Linked DNA regions of Homo sapiens: region 2 is linked to region 1. The links are contacts of gene promoters, found by promoter capture Hi-C in blood cells and fetal thymus (Javierre and others, 2016). All regions are on one chromosome and are shown on one strand. The core of a region is centred on a gene start or on the middle of the fragment in contact, and the rest is flanking DNA. Distances in the headings are between cores, read along the strand shown.

Evidence for each region. The method cuts DNA at HindIII sites, captures the fragments that hold promoters and counts their contacts. A CHiCAGO score of 5 or more calls a contact.
Region 2: a fragment that was not itself captured here is called in contact with the fragment with the promoter of GJA9 in region 1 in 2 of 17 cell types (total CD8 T cells and naive CD4 T cells); the score reaches 5.8 in total CD8 T cells.

Annotation. Positions count from the first base shown.
Region 1 is chr1:38,878,835-38,884,352 of GRCh38, forward strand. GJA9 (gap junction protein alpha 9) reads right to left here and starts at 2,753. Exons shown (of 2, transcript NM_030772.5): 1 at 2,598-2,753. GJA9-MYCBP (GJA9-MYCBP readthrough) reads right to left here and starts at 2,792. Exons shown (of 3, transcript NR_037637.1): 1 at 2,598-2,792. RefSeq lists a silencer at 793-977. The HindIII fragment of the contact is 5,576 bases long and covers 2,470-5,518 here.
Region 2 is chr1:39,016,099-39,022,171 of GRCh38, forward strand. No RefSeq gene overlaps it. Among named protein-coding and RNA genes, the nearest start is that of NDUFS5, 7.2 kb to the right of the region's middle. RefSeq lists enhancers at 1,067-1,775, 1,433-1,602, 4,134-4,303. The HindIII fragment of the contact is 6,004 bases long and covers 78-6,073 here.

The DNA of each region.
Region 1 (5,518 bases), core at 1,503-4,002:
GTGATTCTCCTGCCCCAGGCTCCAGAGTAGCTGGTATTACAGACATGCGCCACCATGCCCAGCTAATTTTGTATTTTTAGTAGAGATGGGGTTCCTCCATATTGGTCAGGCTAGTTTCGAACTCCCAACCTCAGGTGATCCACCTGCCTCGGCCTCCCAAAGTGCTGGGATTACAGGCGTGAGCCACTGCGCCCGGCCTTATGGTACCAGAATCTCATTATAGATATTACTTGCAATAGATTGTTCACTGGTATGGTGGCAGTATTATGGAAACTTTCACTGTAGCAGTATTTGACCTATTTAAGACATATAGCTGCTCTCTTGAAGGAAGCAGTGGGGCAAGTTATAATTTAGCTGCTTGGATTATTTGCCGGCAGATTGCATATTAAGGTTGGTATCCCAGGTTATCTCAGAGGAAATATACCCCAAAGGAAAGATTTTAAAAGTGAATATTTTCATTATTTTTCATTTAAAATATAAATGTATGTCCTGTCCCCTTTATATAAAGGGAACTGTTACACAATCAAACAAACTACTAAGATACAAGATGTGTTCATCACTAAAATCCTATGCGGTAAGTATGTTGTTTCCCCCATCTTACAGATGAGGAAACGGAAGCACACCTTAATTTACCTGAGGTCACACAGCTGGAGCTGGCATTCAAACCCAATCATTGTGGCTTTAGAGTCAGCTCCTTAAATTTTTTACTAAACTATTATTTTTCCTCTGTAAGCAAACTTCAAATTTGCCGGAAAGAAACATTAAGAGATTATCTGTTTTCTCTTAAGTTTAATCATTTAAATTTAGGAATGTAAAATAGTGATAGCTTTGGCTTTTTAAATAACTAGTTCTAGAGTCTTTAGTTCCTTTCTTCAGCCTTTGTTCTGTTTTTTTTGTTCGTTTGTTTTCTGAGACGGAGTCTCGCCCTGTCGCCCAGGCTGGGGTGCAGTGGCGCGATCTCGGCTCACTGCAAGCTCCGCCTCCCGGGTTCACGCCATTCTCCTGCCTCAGCCTCTCCGGGTAGCTGGGACTACAGGCGCCTGCCACCACGCCCGGCTAATTTTTTTGTTATTTTTAGTAGAGACGGGGTTTCACCGTGATCTCGATCTCCTGACCTCGTGATCCTCCCGCCTCGGCCTCCCAAAGTGCTGGGATTACAAGCGTGAGCCACCGCGCCCGGCTCTGTTAATACGATTTGCAAAAGCATCAACCTTCTAAAATATAGTTGTATTCCTGAAATAGAGAAACTTTCCATTGACTTTATTATGTTAATAATAGCATACTCTGGCCGGGCACGGTGGCTCACGCCTGTAATCCCAATACTTTAGGAGGCCGAGGCCAGCGGATCACTTGAGGTCAGGAGTTTGAGACCAGCCTGGCCAACATGGTTGAAACCCTTGCTCTACTAAAAATACAAAAATTAGTCGGGCGTGGTGGCGGGCGCCTGTAGTCCCAGCTACTCGGGAGGCTGAGGCAGAAGAATCACTTGAACCCAGAGGCAGAGGTTGCAGTGAGCCGAGATCACACCATTGCACTCCAGCCTGGGCGACAGAGCAAGACTCTGTCTCAAAAAAAAATAAATAATAATAATAATAATAATAATAATAATAATAATAATAGCATACTCTGACCCAACAACCCAAAGCACTTTAAAATGTAAGCAAGTTGGCCAGGCGCGGTGGCTCACGCCTGTAATCCCAGCACTTTGGGAGGCACAGGCGGGCGGATTACGAGGTCAGGAGTTCGAGACCAGCCTGAGCAACATGGTTGAACCCCATCTCTACTAAAAATACAAAAATTAGCCGGGCATGGTGGCACATGCCTGTAATCCCAGCTACTCAGGAGACTGAGGCAGGAGAATCGCTTGAACCTGGGAGGTGAAGGTTGCAGTGAGCCGAGATCTGGCCACTGCATTCCAGCCTGGGCAATAGAGTGAGACTCTGTCTCAAAAAATAAAAAAAAAGTAAGCAAGTTAAGTCTCATTTATGGTTCATAAATAATAATAATGTAAGCAAAGATGTAATTCATGTTGTTTATAATAGTCATAAGCTAAAAACATAAAATAATAATACAAGAAAAACTGGTTAAATAATCGACTACATCCACGGTGTGATACTATGCAACCAGTAGAAATGATAAACATACATAAAATGGCATTTGATATTTCATTTCAGTGAAATTGATGTTATAAAATAGAATAATATGGCCCCATTATTATAAGTTTAGTTACATTTACAGATGTATACAAAAAAGTCTAGAAGGATATTCATGAAAATATTAACGGTGATTAGCTCTGGATGTTGGGATTACAAATTATATACTTAATATATTGTAATTACATGTATTTTAATTTTTTACTATAAGCATTTTACTTTTATAATCATAAAAAGAAAGAAAATATTTTTTTCATAAAGGACAACACATAGTATTTCCTGAAAGAAGGAGCAGTAGTATTTAGCTACAAATTAAAGCTTTCATAGCAAATGACATAAAAACTGGTATACATATATACAGTACCATAGAATTCAAAAGAAAAAGATAAAAACATTTCAAACAACTCTTTCTTAATAAGCTAAAACAGAGAGATTAACACAAACCTTTCTTAGTTTAGGTAAATCTGAGAAGCAAACCATGTTTAGAAGTTACAGCATGGCCATCTTCAATTTATTTTCTGAATTTGTCCCTTTGCTGGTATAGAGCAGATTCAGTTCAGTTGAATGTAGTGAGTGAGTCATCCATCAACTAAAATCCATGTCCCTTTCTGCTTATCCTTGCTTTTAAAACAGCACCATCCAATAGAACTTTCTGCAACAATGGAAATATTCTATCTGTGCTAGCCAATAAGGCAGCCAGTAGCCAAATGTAGCTATTGAACACTTGCATTATGGTTTGTGTGTCAGAGCAATTGAATTTTTAATTTTAAATAATTTTAATAAAAATGTAAAGAGCTGCATCTACCTAATGGCTGCTTTTTTGGACAGCACAGATAAAGAATGCTTATAATAGTCCTGATAACACACTGCAATCTAGAAGACTAAAGTCATGAGCCCCAAATTAAGCTGAGTGAATGATTCCTCCATAATTCAGAGATGTCAAATTTAAAATGACAGGAGGTATTTGTGTGCTGTTTGTATGCAACTTTTGCCACTGGGGGAACCTAATAAAATGTCATTGTTTTTTGTGCAATAAACCATGTTTCTAGAACCAAAAAAGTCTTTCTTACTAGATAATAACTTCTTGGTCATCTGCCTTAATAAATGGGTCATGTCCGATTTCATAGATAGATCCTGATTCTGTCTCCCATGTTCTGTTATTAACAATTACATTGTATTTTAGGTCATTAAAGGTCCCTTCAGAGCTAGTGATCTGGCAGGTTGAGCATAACAGATAAATACTTCTTCCCTGGGCTTTTTTGCCAACAATAGCTACTTCTCAGATTAAATACAAACATTTCACCAGGGACAAATATATATATATATATATATATATATATATATATATATATATATATATATATTTACATATATATTTTTATATATATATTATTTATATATATATATATTTGTATAGGCACACATACATGCACAATATATTCATGTTTCTATATTATGTGTTATCTGAATTACATATGTGTAACTCATAAATTATTAATAAACTCGAAACTTCCTCAACCTCGGTAGTCAGAGAATACATATTTAAGTGAAATATTATTTTTTAACTATCAAAATGCAAAATTTTAAAGATTTATAATACCTTCTTTTGGCAAAGTAGGGAGACACTGTTACTCTCATATCCTGTAGGTAAGAATATAAATGGATACAGCTATTTAAAAGGCAGTTTAAACCTATCAATATTAGTATAGCATTTCTGCTTTTGGATACTTGAAATATTCATTCAGCATAGACATTCAGAGACACACTGCACATGCTAGGATGTTCACATAGCACTGTTGGTAATTATACAAAAGCAGCAATAATTTAAATGTCTGACAGAGGAATGGTTATCTATGGTACATCTATATCATTCAGCAATTCAGAGAATAAAGATTTCTATGAACTAATAGAGAAAGGTCCCTAGGTCATGTTGTAAAGCAAGTTATAGAACAATACATGTATCACATTTATCCTGTTAAAACCTACATTTCATAAAAATATCTAATTAGAGGCTGGGCTCATGTCTATAATCCTAGCACTTTGGGAGGAGGCTGAGACAGGCGGATCACCTGAAGTCAGGAGTTCAAGACCAGCCTGGCCAATGTGGTGAAACCCAGTCTCTATTAAAAATACCAAAAATTAGCCAGGCATGGTGGCACATGCCTATAATCCCAGCTACCCGGGAGGCTGAGGCAGGAGAATTGCTTGAACCCAGGAGGCAGAGGTTGCAGTGAGCCGAGATGGCGCCACTGCACTCCAGCCTGGGCGACACAGCAAGACCCTGTCTCAAGAAAAAAAAAAATATATATATACACACACACACACACACACACACACACACACACACACACACATATATATTTAGCTAAAATCGATTAACAAAAACTTTTCCTAGTTGAGATCAATCTGAGAAGCAAATGATGCTTAGGAGGAGTTATACCATGGACACCTCTAATTTGTTCTTCAGATTTGTCCCTTTGAGGGTGTAGAGCAGATTCAGTGAAGTTCAATACAGTGGATGAGTTGGACATTAACTTAAATCCATTTTCCTTTCTGCTCATCCTACATAGAAAAATGTCTGCAAGGATACAGACCATACTGTTGTGACCACTGATGATGGTCAGCACTAGGGAAAAACAGCAGGTTTGAAGTGAGAAGGCAAAAGGAGATTTTTTTTTTTTTTAAGACAGGGTCTCACTCTGTCACCCAGGCTGGAGGGCAGTGGCATGATCATAGCTCACTGTAACCTCGAACTCCTGGGTTCCAGTGATCCTCCCACCTCAGCCTCTGGAGTAGCTAGAACTACAGGCAAGCACCACCACACCTGGTTATTTTTTATGTTTTTGTAGAGTTCTTGAATGTTACCCAGGCTGTTCTCAAACTCCTGGGCTCAAGCAGTCCTCCCACATTGGCCTCCCAAAGTGCTGAGATTATAGGCATGAGCCACTGCACCTGGCTGAGATTTTATCTTTTAACTTCTTGTTTGAATCTTTGTTTAACCAAGAACACACTCATAAGGCCAGGCATGGTGGCTCACACCTGTAATCCCAGCACTTTGGGAGGCTGAGGTGGGTGGATCACTTGAGGTCAGGGGTTTGAGACCAGCCTGGCCAACATGGTGAAACACCGTCTCTACTAAAAAATACAAAAATTAGCCGAGTGCAGTGGTTCACACCTGTAATCCCAGCACTTTGGGAGGCCGAGGTGGGCGGATCACCTAAGGTCAGGAGTTCAAGACCAGCCTGGCCAACATGGTGAAACCCCGTCTCTACTAAAAATACAAAAATTAGCCAGGCGTGGTGGCAGGTGCCTGTAATCCCAGCTACTCAGGAGGCTGAGGCAGGAGAATCACTTGAACCCAGTGG
Region 2 (6,073 bases), core at 1,830-4,329, 140 kb after region 1:
GATGAAAATATATGTCAGGTAGACTGGTCCTTTGGCCTTACTAGTTTATTTTCTTCATGTAATCATACTGCTTGGGAAGCTTAGTTAAAGTTAAAAGGCAGCTCTATAAATCAAAGTGAGAGGAGTTAGTTGTTCTAGGGATGGGATGTTTACCAAAATCAAGTTACCCCTCCCACCATAAGCCTGGCTCAGTCTCTCCCCAATTCATTTTGACTCAGTGATTCCTGATTGTTTCACCTGTTCAACTTGATATTTCCTCCAGCCCCAAATGGCACAATCTTAGATGTCACTTAGATGATCGCTCTGGTTTCCATTATATTCCAGCCCTTAAGACCCGTTTGTTTTTCACATTACTTTGCTTCTCTGCTCTGTTGTGTCTGTCCTACAGCCGAATTACCAGGTTAGGAGTAGGGAGACTCTCCAAACACCATCTTCCCCAAATGTGCTACCCAGCTTATTCAAATCTGTGTGGCAGTGGTACCAGGATACAGATCTAAATAAAGTTCCCAATGTGCTAAATTATAGATGGCCTATCTGTAGAAGGGTACTGTGAGAGCTTTTCTCAGGTTATGACTAAGAGGTGTGTAAACATGAGGGAACCTTACAGGTCAAGGACAGAAATCCCGTGAATGCAGACCCAGGAAACCTGTAGACGGCTCTGCCTACAACCTTGCAGACACCCTGTGCATGCAGCAGCTGAGGCTTGTTCAGAGGGGTGGGACTCAGGGCCTTGCATTAGCACTTCCAGCCCCGCTTTGTTACCCTGGGAGCAAGGCTATGTTGGGAAGAATAGCTAGTCCTATTCCACTGGGTGTCGGGGCCTCGGGATCCATGAAACGGAAAACAGCAATAGCGTGGGCTTGCCTCTCTACACATGAAGGCCTCCTTTGATTTCAGTATAAAAACACCCATGAAGCAATGGATATGCAGATCCAGGCAAAGAAAAGGTAAAGGTAGGGAAGGGGGGAGGGGACAGCAACATTACCTCGCTTGTGACATAGGGAGCAACAAAATGCAGGCAGCCGCCAGTGGCACGCAGGCTCAGTTCTAGCAGGGGGTACTCTGGGATTTTTAGTTTCTCAGCCTTTGCAGCCAAGGAAGACTGACACCTACATCCTTGCACCCCTATCATGCATACAGCAAGACTGTATGCAGGGCCTGGTGGAGGAGGCTGGGGAATCATCATTTAACAATATCTATAATAGACATTTACAGGGCTGGTGGGATCTCAAAAAGGCCTGTAAATGCCTGAGGAATTCAGGAAGTTTTCACCAGAAAATGATGTGATAAACTGGATCTGAATGGATTAGGCATTCGCCAGGGAGACAGTGGGAAGGTAGCAGCAAGTGGGTGGGATCATTCCAGGCGAAGAAACTGCTCCAACGAGCTTGGAGCGTGAAAGCAATTGTGGATGGCTGAGAACACGAGTTTGAGTGGGGGCAGTAAGCAATGGGATCTGAGGATTTAGAAATGGGTGAATGATCTTGAATGCCAAACCCAAGAATTTTTACCTTTTCTTGAAGCATTGACACACAGCCAGGGCAGAATGAATGGCTCCCTTCTTTGTGTTTCATTCATCTTTCTGTAACAGAAGATCACTGGCTACAACATTTTGATTGTTTCTTCATCCCAAGAACCCAAGGGCCATGGAAGTGTTGCTGTTTTCATAAGTTATTAGGGTACAGGTGGTATTTGGTTACATGAGTAAGTTCTTTAGTGGTGATTTGTGAGATTTTGATGCACCCATCACCCAAGCAGTATACACCGTACCCTATTTGTAGTCTTTTATCCCTCGCCCCCCTCCCGCCCTTTCCTCCAGGTCCCCAAAATCCACTGTATCATCCTTAAGCCTTCGCGTCCTCATAGCTTAGCTCGCACATATCAGTGAGAACATACGATGTTTGATTTTCCATTCCTGAGTTACTTCACTTAGAATATTAGTCTCCAATCTCATCCAGGTCACTGCAAATGCCATTAATTCATTCCTTTTTATGGCTGAGTAGTATTCCATCGTATATATATATACACCACAGATTCTTTTTTTTTTTTCTTTGAGACGGGAGTCTTGCTCTGTTGCCCAGGCTGGAGTGCAGTGGTGTGATCTCAGCTCACTGCAACCTCTAAGCCTCCTGGGTTCAAGCGATTCTCCTGCCTCAGCCTCCTGAGTAGCTGGGATTACAGGCACATGCCACCACGCCCGGCTAATTTTTCATATTTTTAGTAGAGACGGGGTTTCACCGTGTTAGCCAGGGTGGTCTCCATCTCCTGAACTCATGATCCGCCCACCTTGGCCTCCCAAAGTGCTGGGATTACAGGCATGAGCCACTGCGCCCGGACCACAGTTTCTTTATCCACTCGTTGATTGATGGGCATTTGGGTTGGTTCCACATTTTTGCAACTGAGAATTGTGCTGCTATAAACATGTGTGTACAAGTATCTTTTTCGTATAATGACTTCTTTTCCTCTGGATAGATACCCAGTAGTGAGACTGCTGGATCAAATGGTAGTTCTACTTTTAATTCTTTAAGGAATCTCCACATAGTTTTCCATAGTGGCTGTACTAGTTTACATGCCCACCAGCAGTGTAGAATTGTTCCCTGATCACTGCATCCATGCCAACATCTACTGCTTTTTTATTTTATTTATTTTTTTAGAGACAAGAGTCTTGCACTATCCCCCAGGCTGGAGTGCAGTGGCGTGACCTTGGCTCACTGCAACCTCCAACTCCCAGGTTTAAGCGATTCTCATGCTTTAGCTTCCCGAGTAGCTGGGATTACAGGCGCCTGCCACCACGCATAGCTAATTTTTGTACTTTTAGTAGAGACAGGCTTTCATCACGTTGGCCAGGCTGGTCTCAAACTCCTGGCCTCAGGTGATCTGCCTGCCTTGGCCTCCCAAAGTGCTGGGATTACAGGCATGAGCCACCATGCCTGTTTTTTGATTTATTTATTTATTTATTTATTTATTTATTTATTTATTTATTTATTTTTTGAGACGGAGTCTGCCTGTGTAGCCCAGGCTGGAGTGCAGTGGCGCGACTCGGCTCACTGCAAGCTCCGCCTCCCGGGTTGACACCATTCTCCTGCCTCAGCCTCCCCTGTAGCTGTGATTACAGGCGCCCGCCATCACGCCCGGCTAATTTTTTGTATTTTTAGTAGCGACGGGGTTTCACCGTGTTAGCCAGGATGGCCTTGATTTCCTGACCTCGTGATCCACCCGCTTCCGCCTCCCAAAGTGCTGGGATTACAGGCATGAGCCACCGCGCCCGGCCTTTTTTGATTTTTTTACTGCGGCCATTCTTGCAGCAGTATAATGGTATCGCATTGTGGTTTTGATTTGCATTTCCCTGATCATTAGTGATGTTGAGCTTTTTTAAATATGTTTGTTGGTCATTTGTATATCTTCTTTTGAGAATTGTGTATTCATGTCCTTAGCCCACTTTTTGATGGGATTTTTTTTTCTTACTGATTTGTTTGAGTTTGTTTTTGTTATAGATTCTGGATATTAATCCTTTGTCAGATATAGATTGTGAAGATTTTCTCTCACTCTGTGGGTTGTCTGTTTACTCTGCTGGCTGTTACTTTTGCCATGCAAAATCTCTTTAGTTTAATTAAGTCCCAACTATTTGTCTTTGTTTTTATTGCATTTGCTTTTGGCTTCTTCGTCATGAAATTCTTGCCTAAGCCAATGTCTAAGTTATTTTCTAGACTTTTTATAGTTTCAGGTCTTAGATTTAAGTCCTTAATCCATCTTGAGTTGATTTTTATTTAAGGTGAGAGATGAGGATCCAGTTTCATTCTCCTACACATGGCTAGCCAATTGTCCAGGCACCATTTGTTGAAAAGGTGTCCTTTCCTCACTTTATGTTTTTGTTTGCTTTGTCAAAGATCAGTTGGGTGTAAATATTTGGGTTTATTTCTGGGTTCTCTATTCTGTTCCATTGGTCTATGTGCCTATTTATTTATTTTATTATTATTATTATTATTATTATTATTATTTTGAGATGGAGTCTCGCTCCTGTCGAGCAGGCTGGAGTGCAGTGGCGTGATCTTGGCTCGCTGCAACCTCCACCTTCCAGGTTCAAGCAATTCTCCTTCCTCAGCCTCTTGAGTAGCTGGGATTACAGGTGTGCACCACCACGCCGGGCTAATTTTTTTATTTTTAGTAGAGATGGGGTTTGGCCATGTTGGCCAGGCTGGTCTCAAACTCCTGACCTCAGGTGATCCGCCTGTCTCAGCCTCCCAAAGTGCTAGGATTACAGGTGTGAGCCACTGCACCCGGCCTATGTGCCTATTTTTATATCAGTACTATGCTGTTTTGTGACTATGGCCTTATAGTATAGTTTAAAATCAGGTAATGTGATGCCTCCAGATTTGTTCTTTTTGCTTAGCCTTGCTTTGGCTATGCAAGCTCTTTTTTGGTTCCATATAAATTTTATAATTTTTTTTTTTAGAATTGTTTTTTCTAATTCTGTGAAGAATGGTGGTGGTATTTTGATGGGGATTGCGTTGAATTTGTAGATTGCTTTTGGCAGTATGGTCATTTTCACAATATTGATTTCTACCCATCCATGAACATGGGATGTGTTTCCATTTGTTTGTGTCATCTATCATTTCTTTCAGCAGTGTTTTGTAATTTTCCTTGTAGAGGTCTTTTGCCTCCTTGGTTAGGTATATTCCTAAATATTTTATTTTATTTTTTGCAGCTATTGTAAAAGGTGTTGAGTTTTTTTTGTTTGTTTTTGTGGTTTTTTGTCTTTGTTTTGTTTTTGTTTGTTTTGAGACAGAGTCCCACTCCATTGCCCAGGCTGGAGTGCAATGGCGTGATCTTGACTTGCTGCAATTTCCGCCTCCCAGGTTCAAGTGATTCTCCTGCCTCAGCCTCCCAAGTATTTGGGATTACAGGCACCTGCCACCATGCCCAGCAAATTTTTATATTTTTAGTAGAGACGGGGCTTCACCAAGTTGGCCAGGCTGGTTTCAAACTCCTGACCTCAGGTGATCCACCCACCTTGCCTTCCCAAAGTGTTGGGATTACAGGTGTGAGCCACCACACCCAGCCTCCCTCCCTCCCTCCCTCCCTCCCTTCCTTCCTTCCTTCCTTCCTTCCCTCCCTCCCTCCCTCCCTCCTTCCTTCCATTCTCTCTGTCTCTCTGTCTCTCTCTCTTTTTGACAGGGTCTTGCTCTGTCACCCAGACTGGAGTTCAGTAGCTCAATCATGGCTTACTGCAGCCTGGAGTTCAGTAGCTCAATCATGGCTCACTGCAGCCTCAACCTTTTGGGCTCAAGTGATCCTCCTGCCTCAGCCTCCTGAGTAGCTGGGACTACAAGCAACACACCACCATGCCCAGCTAATTTTTTTTTAATTTTTTTTGTTGTTGTTGTATTGACAAGATCTCACTATGTTGCTCAGGCTGGTCTCGAACTCCTGGGCTCAAGCAATCCACTTCAGTCTCCTAAAGTGCTGGGATTACAGGCATGAGCCATCATGCTTAACCCTGCATGGTATTTCTGAGGAATGATATGATGAAATCTGTATTTTAGGATGACCAGTCATGCAGAACAGATTGGAGTGAGGAGTTGGGAGACAAGAAGGAAGAGATAAATTGGAAATTTGTTGAAGGAATATTTGACAGAACTTGTGCTGTAATTAAATACTAAATGAAAGAAAAGGAAAAGGCAGAATACAACTCCAGAGTTTGCTGCCTAAGTGGCTGGGAAGATGACACCATCAACAAACAAGAAAAGGGGCAGGGGACTGGAAAAGGTAGTGATAACTCGCCACTAGCACTTTGTGGGCAAGGGCCATGAGTTACCAGTTATATAATCCTGCAGTATTCAGCTGGACATACAAGAGGTCTTCACAAAGTTTATGAAAAATGTGTATTATGAAAAAACTATGCATAGATTTCAAAAAATTTTTGCACCAAAATAAATTTGTACTAACTTGTTATAACATGTCTGAGCAGGATCTACTTTGAGGCACTATGAAGGATAAGACATTAGTTTGAAAAGAGCCCCTATAAGAGTAACATGAATTCTGCTAAAATTGAAGCAAGAACAAATATCAAGTT